Regions from separate parts of the Homo sapiens genome. Here regions 1 and 3 are each linked to region 2. The links are contacts of gene promoters, found by promoter capture Hi-C in blood cells and fetal thymus (Javierre and others, 2016). All regions are on one chromosome and are shown on one strand. Each heading gives the region's core, a stretch centred on a gene start or on the middle of the fragment in contact. The rest is flanking DNA. Distances are from core to core; before and after follow the strand shown. Region 1 has its middle 38 kb from the start of IER5. Region 2 holds the start of XPR1 (xenotropic and polytropic retrovirus receptor 1). Region 3 overlaps XPR1 (xenotropic and polytropic retrovirus receptor 1).

Region 1 (3,176 bases), core at 312-2,811, 490 kb after region 2:
TAAAAAATAACAGCCACCACTACAAAACCCAACATTTTTATTATTTCTTTACCCTCCCAGTTTCCAAATAGTTCCCTCTTTTGGGGCACACATTGACCATCTTTCTTCTGTCCCAGACACGAGGTGCACTGTCGCATGGCTGACTGTGAGGCTCAGTGGGGCCATTTCTGTTGAACATATTGCAGGTGAAACTGCCCCAGCTTTCTTCTCCTCTGATGTCTTTCAGCCCCATCATCTCTGAGGTCTCCTTAGGGAGACCTCCTCATTCATTCATCCAGTGGATAATTATTGAGCACTTACTATTGGCCAGGTGCTGTTCCAGGCACAAGGGTGCCATGGAAAGCATGATAAAATTGTCTTGTGAAGCTTACATTGGTCAATGGAGACAGACAAACACCCAAGATGTAAATAAATTTAAAAGGTTCAGATAGTTATAAATGCTATGAAGAAAATAAAATAAAGTAATATACGGAGCAACAAGAGGAAAGGAGAAGAAACATCAAGTGCCAAGATCCCAGAGTAGGAAAAGACTTCAAGAATGGAAGGGGTATCAGGGACAGCGGGGAGGGGGAAGGGACAGATCACACAGGCCTTATATGCCATGGGGAGGAGTTTGATTTTATTTTTTGTGCAGCAGGGGAGCAACATGATCACTTCATGAGAAGGACCATCCTGGCTGTTGTGGAAAATGGATGGTTGTGACCAAGAGTGAGAACAGGGAGACCAGTTGGGAGGCCATTATAGTCACCCAGGCCTCGGCTGTGGTGGCTTGGAAGGTGCCCCCTTGGATGGGGGCAACAAAGAGGGTGAGAAATAGATTTGAGGTAGATTTATTTTATTTTATTTTTTTGAGATGGAGTCTCACTCTATTGCTCAAGCTGGAGTACAGTGGCGCGATCTCTGCTCACTGCAACCTCTGCCTCCTGGGTTCAAGCCATTCTCCTTTCTCAGCCTCCTGAGTAGCTGGGATTACAGGCGGCGCCACCACACTGGCTAATTTTTGTATTTTTTTTTTTTTTGAGACGGAGTCTCACTCTGTCGCCCAGGCTGGAGTGCAGTGGCGCGATCTCTGCTCACTGCAAGCTCCGCCTCCTAGGTTCATGCCATTCTCCTGCCTCAGCCTCCTGAGTAGCTGGGACTACAGGCACCTGCCACCATGCCCGGCTAATTTTTTGTATTTTTTTTTTTTTTTAGTAAAGATGGGGTTTCACCATGTTAGCCAGGATGGTCTCGATCTCATGACCTTGTGATCCGCCTGCCTTGGCCTCCCAAAGTGCTGGGATTACAGGCGTGAGCCACTGTGCGGCCTAATTTTTGTATTTTTAGTAAAGACAGGGTTTTGCCATGTTGGTCAGGCTGGTCTTGAACTCCTGATCGCTGGTAATCCACCTGCCTTGGCTTCCCAAAGTGCTGGGATTACAGGCATGAGCCACCACGCCTGGCCTGAGGTAGATTTTAGAGGCAGACACAGTGGAGTAGAAAATGCTCTTGTCTGGGACCCAGAAGTCCTGGGATTAAATCCTGAGTTCACCACTCATCAGATGTGGGAGCTTATACAGATGGCCTAATGCTTCAGTCCCCTCATGTATAAAATAAAGATACCGGCACCTACCTCCCAGTTTCTCAAGAAGGGGAGCTGAGGAAGGCAGATGTGCCCAGCATGGTGCCTGTGAAACAGGGCCTCCGCCAAGTTGCTTAGCGAGAATGAGTGTGGGTTTGAGTGTACTCCAGAGAGGTAGCTAGGCACTCCAGGCATTTCCTGGAACTCACTTGTCCTCTGTTAAAAAGGTGGAAAGGAAAGATTGTCACCCAGGCTATTGGGAGTGGGCGCATCTTCCAGGTAACTCAAAGTCAACTCTGAGTAAACAGGTAAGGGTGTATTTGGAAGCCACTCATTGCCTTTTAAATTGGGACATGGGTTTTAGGTGAGGGTTGGGAAATGCCTAGGGCTGGCAGGAGAGAATGGCCTGAGGGGCTCATGGCGGCTGGGCCAGGCAGGAGGGCTTGAACCTGGGGGCGGGCCTGTTGCATCCAGAGGGGCAGCTGGTAGAGGTGGCTCTGGAAATACGGGCTCTGGCAGATGATGGAAGGAAGACTGGGGAACAGTTTGATGGACTGATAGGTTTCCAGAGACTCTCAGCCAGCCTGGATAGTGACCTTTTGCAGGTGGAGCTGGTCAGTTTTGAGGCCTTTCCGTGGAAGTTCTGAAAGCAGAGGTCCCGCCCCTGGAAATCCCCCAGCCTACGCCGGCTTGTTGTTGTCCTGCAGCCCTGTGGGAGCTGCCTGACCCTGGGGCAGGGTGCACGGACTTAGATTAAGGCCAGAACCAAAGGTCAGCTTAACTGGAGTAGTATCCATGGGCTATGCCCCTTTCTTTTTAGCTCTCTGAAGTGTGGATGCTGCAGCATCAGGTTTCTGAAGGGCAGGAAAGGGGAGCTGACGTCAGCAGAGCACCTATGGAGCACCTGGCACTGTGCCAAGCAGCCTAGACTCCTCATGACACATGGGTAAAGCAAACATTATTATCTCCATTTTTTTTTTTAATAGTAGGAAACTGAGGCTCCAAGGGTTGGAAGTAGCTTTTCCCATGTCACGTGACTGGTACTGGGAACTCGAGTCTGCCCTGCTTCACAGCTCTTGTTCCTGCACAAGTGTCTCCGGAGAGGCTGGGGTACATCAGAACCTCCAGAGGAGGGGACTTGGGAGCTTGATGTTTAAAAAAGCAACACAGGCATGTGCAATGGAGAACTGAATTGGAAGCTTCTGCCTGTGGCTTTTTTTTTTTTTTTTTTTTTTTTGAGATGGAGTCTTGTTCTGTCGCCTAGGCTGGAGTGCAGTGGTGGAATCTTGGCTCACTGCAACCTCTGCCTCCCAGGATCAAGCAATTCTCCTTCCTTAGCCTCCTGCGTAGCTGGGATTACAGGCATGTGCCACCACACTCAGCTAATTTTTTTGTATTTTTAGTAGAGACGGGGTTTTACCATGTTGGCCAGGCTGGTCTCAAACTCCTGAACTTATGTGATTTGCCTGCCTTGGCCACCCAAAGTGCTGGGATTACAGGCATGAGCCACCGCGCCTGGCCTGCCTGTGGCTTTATTGAAGGCCTTAGTGGGGACATTGTTAGGTGCCTGCTTTTGCAACACCACCTTAGCAGGACTTACAGAATCTTAACTGGA
Region 2 (2,836 bases), core at 60-2,559:
TGGAGAAAAAAAGACAACAGCAGAGAATGATATCTCAGAGCACTGCTCCAGGCATAGCAGTTCCCTAGTAAATCTTGAAATCTCATCAAAATTGTGAGGGTTAGGCTGAGCAAGGTGGCTCATGCCTGTAATTCCAGCACTTTAGGAGGCCTAGGTGGGAGGACTGTTTTAGCTCAGGAGCTCAAGACCAGCCTGGGCAACATAGCAAGACCCACATCTCTCCCAAAAATAAACAAAAAAATTAGTTTGGCATAATGGCATGTGCCTGTAGTCCCAGCTACTCAGGGGGCTGAGGTGGGAGGATGGCTCACAAACCTATGTGAGGTAAGGCTGCAGTGAACCATGATGGTGTGACTGCACTCCAGCCTGGGCAACAAAGCGAGACCAAAAAAAAAAATGTTAGAATCAAGGGACAAAGTACATGTAAGAGGTTTAGAATAGCACTTGGTACAGGAACAGTGAGTGCTCAATAAATTATTATTAGGTCTCCTCCACCCAGGGTAGGACCTGGGTTTCTGTCCTGAATTGGGACTTCCAAGACAATCACTCCCACACTCAATGTAGTACAGAGCTCTGTGAGTGATCTCTGCCCATGTTCCCCAGGGACACTTCAGCCTGGGTGCTGGGCCTGTTTCCGGTTTTACTGGGGTGGGCTTAGAGCTGTACTTCTACGGGGTTCTCTTTCCTCTCAACGTTGGTTTCCCTCCCAACCCTCACCCCCAACCCCAGGAAGCTCAGTTTACAAGTGCGGTCGGTACCCTCATTTGGTGTTTTTATTGGCTTTTCTGATAGCCCCTGGACTAGACAATTACATTGAAATTCAGAAGCAGCATGCACTTTTTGGCATTGATGTCTTTAATTAAATTCAATAAGCACTTATTGAGCACCTAGAGTGTGTAAAATACTGTTCCTTTAAATACATTTAGTCCTGAACTGTTTTAGCTTCTTAGTTTGGATTAGTGCTGATCCATTTCTTAAAGGTTTTATGAAGCATAAATATCAAAATGGAAAAATATTTGCACAGTTCTTTGTAAATATAAACGTCTTGTGTGGATTATTGTTGCTACAGTATTAATATTAACTGCAGTAACAACACTGCTGCTTCCCAGACAGGCGGTAGAAAGCAGCTGTAGGCCAACAGGAGCCAGACTGAAGAGATCCAGGGAGGTGCCTCCAGCACGTACGGCCCACAAGGGGCGGAGTCTTAAGAAGCGTACCCAAGCCCCACCCCTTACAGCACCCCCTTCGTCAGGGCGGTGTAGGCGGTTACCATGGCGATGACGTCCAGAGGGCGGGGAGGGGCGGGGCTATGGAGAGGAGGAGGAAGATGGCGGGCGGGCTGCTCTGAAGAGACCTCGGCGGCGGCGGAGGAGGAGAGAAGCGCAGCGCCGCGCCGCGCCGGGGCCCATGTGGGGAGGAGTCGGAGTCGCTGTTGCCGCCGCCGCCTGTAGCTGCTGGACCCGAGTGGGAGTGAGGGGGAAACGGCAGGATGAAGTTCGCCGAGCACCTCTCCGCGCACATCACTCCCGAGTGGAGGAAGCAATACATCCAGTATGAGGTACCGGCACGGCTGGGGTGTGGGAGGACTCGGAGGGGCCACCATCTCGCCAGTCCTGACGTCCACCGCCGCCTTCCGCTTCAGCTGGCTCCCTGTGCCCGGGCAGACTTTGACCCGCTGCCGCGGGGAGCCACTGCGGCATCCCCGCCGCGGCCGGCCGCCTCCCGGCTCCGCTGTCCTTCCCCTCCCCCGCAGCCCCGCTGCCGCCGGGGTAACGGATATGCAGGCGGAGGGCCGGGAGGAAAGGCGCTGCCCGGGCCGGGGCCGGGGCCGGGGAACGGTGGGAGGGTGAGCTGCAGGTGGGGGAGTCACGGTGCGAGGGCAGCCCCGGGTCGCGGCTGTTCCGCGCTAATCCCCTTCTCCCCACTCGCCCTGACCTCTCGTCCCCACCCTGGGCGAGCGCCCCCTCGCCAAGGTTAGGTCTTGTTTCTCTCTCTACACCTCTCACCAAGGAATCCTTGTCTTCCAAGAGAAGCCCCTCCAGTGATTTCCTTCATTCCAAAGAGCCCTTCGGCTTTTTCCCACTTGCCCACTGTTGACAAAGGCTTTGTAACGGGGTTGAAACTTGACTTAAGTGTGTATCACATATGTAGTGGTTATAGTTTTTGTAAACACGTTGTAATCAACTATTCTGCTTTGATAATAAGACTCTTTTTACTGATTGCATGAAGTCTACAGAGTAATAACATCTTTGTTTTTGCCTCTTGTTTTGGAATGGAGGGAAGAGAAAGGAGAGAAGAGAATTATTAACATTTTTTTATTTTCTGCTAAGTTTTTGCTAGCTGGGGAGAAAATTAGTATATTGTAAACAATATACCTTACCTGTGTATTACAGAAATCATGCTCCCCATTCCCTCCCAATTTCTGTGCTAACACTGCTGGAAGGTATTTAATAGATAATAAGGAACCTTACATTAATAAAGGGAAAAATAAAGATAATGAACCCATTTATATGTTCAGAAGACAAGATACCTAAGAGGCTTTAAGCATTGCAATAGGTTATTCTCAGTAGCTGGCAATTCAGCTCCTGGATAGAGAAAGACAGACTTATCTGTAACCTCCAGGAATTCACATCTGTTTTGTGTGCAGGAACAAAGAATATAAAATCAATATGAACACACATAACTTAGCTAGATTTTATGAATTAAACTATTTTAGTTCTCCATTTAATTTTTATATAAGTTTAGTGATAGGAGGTTTGGGCAATAGCAGTGAGTGTATTTATTCATATAGCCATTGTAATAATTGAAGAAGACAGGGAAAGAGATGCAGGTAGGT
Region 3 (2,816 bases), core at 153-2,652, 260 kb after region 2:
CCCCTAGGATCCCTGACTTCCTGATATTCTAAACATGAGAGTTCTGTGACTTTAACTGAGCTCTTTACCAGAAGTAACGTGTTGATGTATATTATCTTTCCACCATGCTTTGACCAAAGTACATTCACAGTAACTAGAGAAAGCAGATCATCCATTTCTGGATAGGTGAACTACGGCAAGGTAAGAACAGAAAAAAGTAAAGTAGTATTGAGTCATGCAGGTATCAGATTAACAGACATTCATTGAAGATAAGTGAAATAACTTTGGAGATAGCAGAGAAGAGCAAGAAGATGTTGGACGTTGGCAGTAAGCCGCAGCAAGGCAGTTAGGAAAGTACGTGAGCCTGATGACGCGAAGGTGATGCCTCCATCTGTCCGCTTAGTGGTTATTAAATTGCTGGGAAAGACCTGCCTTTATTTTCCTATCATCTTTTCCCCATTACTTTGCATTATTCAGGAAATAATTATTTATTCCCAAATGCAGTTTTCTAAGCAGTGACCACAAAAATTTCTTATTCTAAGGAAAATAATTAAGAAAATAACCCTATCTGTGGCATTGTTTTAAAATGTGGGATACAAATCTGGTAAGCAGATTTCAGGTCATTATTGTTTTCTTTTAATGGTTTACATGAAATTTTCCTCTCAAAAAACAAGTACCTCTTACTGTATAACATTTGAGTTTTTAAAATTGAGATAGCTTCTGAGAGAAAAAAAGAAAGTTGAATTTGTAGCTCTCTCAACTACAAAATCACCACACTTTTCTCAAATCTAATAGGAATTCAGTGTCATTACAGATACGGTCTCTAGTGACCAGGTGAAGACAATTGAAGCTTTGGTAGAACTTCTGCAAAAGTTAGGTAAAGAAGAATAAATCCAATTTATCAGCTTTGTTCATATTCTTTTTCTGAGTGATCTAAATTTTTCTTGCTTGTGATCATTAGCTAAGACAAGGAGTGTTAAAGGTTTTCTAAATGCAAACACATACGTTTCTGCATTTCAGAAGTCAGTCTTGATAGTAAATCCTACAAACTCTCAACTTTCTGCATTGTATTTTAAGTCTATACAATGTTAGAGCACATGGTAATGTGGGACAGAGTTGATTATATGATAGCATGAGAAATTTGCACTGGTTGGTGTTACAAACCAATGATCTAACCAGCATACTCTCCAAATATGAAAAAGTAAAAACATCTCATTAGGTTTGGAAGAGCCTAAGGTAGTCCATACAGGAAGTTTGCCTGAGAACAGAGAGGAGCCTGTTGATTGGCATGGCTCATGATGCCTTTCTTGTATGAATTATCAAAACTGATACTGAGTTGCCCCTAGAAAACAGCCTTCCAGAATATGTTTGCTTATTTATGGTGGAAGAGGAAGTGAGAACAAGATGAGAGTTTCCCTTAAAGTGAGGAGAATCATTATACAACTTTGCAACTGAAGTATGTTTCCTTGTAGCAAACCTTTGGTTTATTTTATCGTCAAATCAAAGCCACCCTCAGTTTTTTGTATGGTGCCATCAACCTAAGGAGGACAATCAAATAACCTATTGTTTGCCTTGGATTCAGTATATCTACTAAGTACACAGTCTCGTATACCTTCAAACCAGTTACTTGACTAAACTTCCACCATATTACCTTAGTTCTTCCTATGCCCTTTCCTCTGTGCCACCACAAATCAGAGGGAAAGACTGCAGTACTTCTAGAAAGTTGTGGACTTCTAAGAAAGAGCCAGGCTTCCATCTCACTATCCCTTGATCATTATCTCTGAAGTCCCTACCTGCACTTCCCTGATTGCCCTGTAGCAACACCAGCATGGTGGGAATTGGAGGGAAAGATTGTGGAAAATCCCTAAAGGGTCATTGTTCATGACGTTATTTTGAATTGTAAAATTGTGAGCCACTCACATTTCAATTACAAAAAGAACAGAACTCTTAATCACGTTGTGAAGATTAATTTCTTGCCATTTTCTGGATTAGCACAGAAGCTTGTATCAATGAAGAGTATTTAGGAGGGGAATAGGGGGAAAATTGTATTTTTCTGTTCAAACTCTCTCCTTCTATTTGTGTTTCCTTCACCCCTCTCCCTCCACCACACTGTGTTGGTCAAATGATACTATTCTATGAAACCCTGAGCTATAGTTGTCAAAAGTAACTATGGATTGTGATTAGTCCTCTGTGGGTGCTTCCTTCCCTCTTTTTTCTCCCTCACTCTCTTTCTCAGTCTCCACTCTGGTAAATGGAAAAGGTGATGTCGAAGAATTGATGCTTGCTTGGACTCATGTTGTATCTGTGACTATGCTATTAGCTGTCTCCTTTTTCCTTCCTATATGGGTAGAATTCTTATGACTTATGAAGTTCCCTTCTTGATAAGTAGGTTAAATGCACAATGTGGTACTGTTTTATAGTTTCTAGATGGTTGTATAAAGCAAAAAGTTAATGTGGTTATGTGTTTTTAAAGAAAATAAGTGATTGGTCACTAAACTCTGTCCTTTTTTCATTATTACAATTTCTCTCTGTTTTCCAACAGTTTGCTGACTCCTTTGTCACTGGTGAATGGTTTGTGTGACTGTTTTTCTCTCTTGGTTTCTTGAATTCCTGAACATAGTTCCCCTTAGGACTAATTTTCATATGGGGTTAGGGCAAACAGACTACAGTGGTGAAATTTTTAAACTATCCTACTAAGTTAAAAGAAGTTTAAATGGCTTTTATCTTCAGGTAATATGTGAGGTGTGACTCTAAAGCAATGGGATTGTTGTAACAAATCTTTCTTTTACTCGCACAAAGAATCTCAAATATTACAAATATGAGGTGAAATGATGTGT

The links. Contacts are between HindIII fragments. The CHiCAGO score rates a contact against its expected background, and 5 or more counts as called.
Region 1: a contact is called between a fragment that was not itself captured here and the fragment with the promoter of XPR1 in region 2, in 2 of 17 cell types (erythroblasts and neutrophils). The highest score is 6.9, in erythroblasts.
Region 3: a fragment that was not itself captured here is called in contact with the fragment with the promoter of XPR1 in region 2 in 1 of 17 cell types (erythroblasts); the score reaches 6.6 in erythroblasts.

The regions. Positions count from the first base shown.
Region 1 is chr1:181,124,815-181,127,990 of GRCh38, forward strand. No RefSeq gene overlaps it. Among named protein-coding and RNA genes, the nearest start is that of IER5, 38 kb to the left of the region's middle. The HindIII fragment of the contact is 2,394 bases long and covers 365-2,758 here.
Region 2 is chr1:180,630,713-180,633,548 of GRCh38, forward strand. It overlaps XPR1 (xenotropic and polytropic retrovirus receptor 1), which reads left to right and starts at 1,310. Exons shown (of 15, transcript NM_004736.4): 1 at 1,310-1,558. The coding sequence starts at 1,490. RefSeq lists enhancers at 1,174-1,674, 1,675-2,175 and a silencer at 1,670-2,049. The HindIII fragment of the contact is 29,339 bases long and covers 1-2,836 here.
Region 3 is chr1:180,887,732-180,890,547 of GRCh38, forward strand. It overlaps XPR1 (xenotropic and polytropic retrovirus receptor 1), which reads left to right. Exons shown (of 15, transcript NM_004736.4): 15 at 1-2,548. Among named protein-coding and RNA genes, the nearest start is that of LINC02816, 17 kb to the right of the region's middle. The HindIII fragment of the contact is 1,150 bases long and covers 828-1,977 here.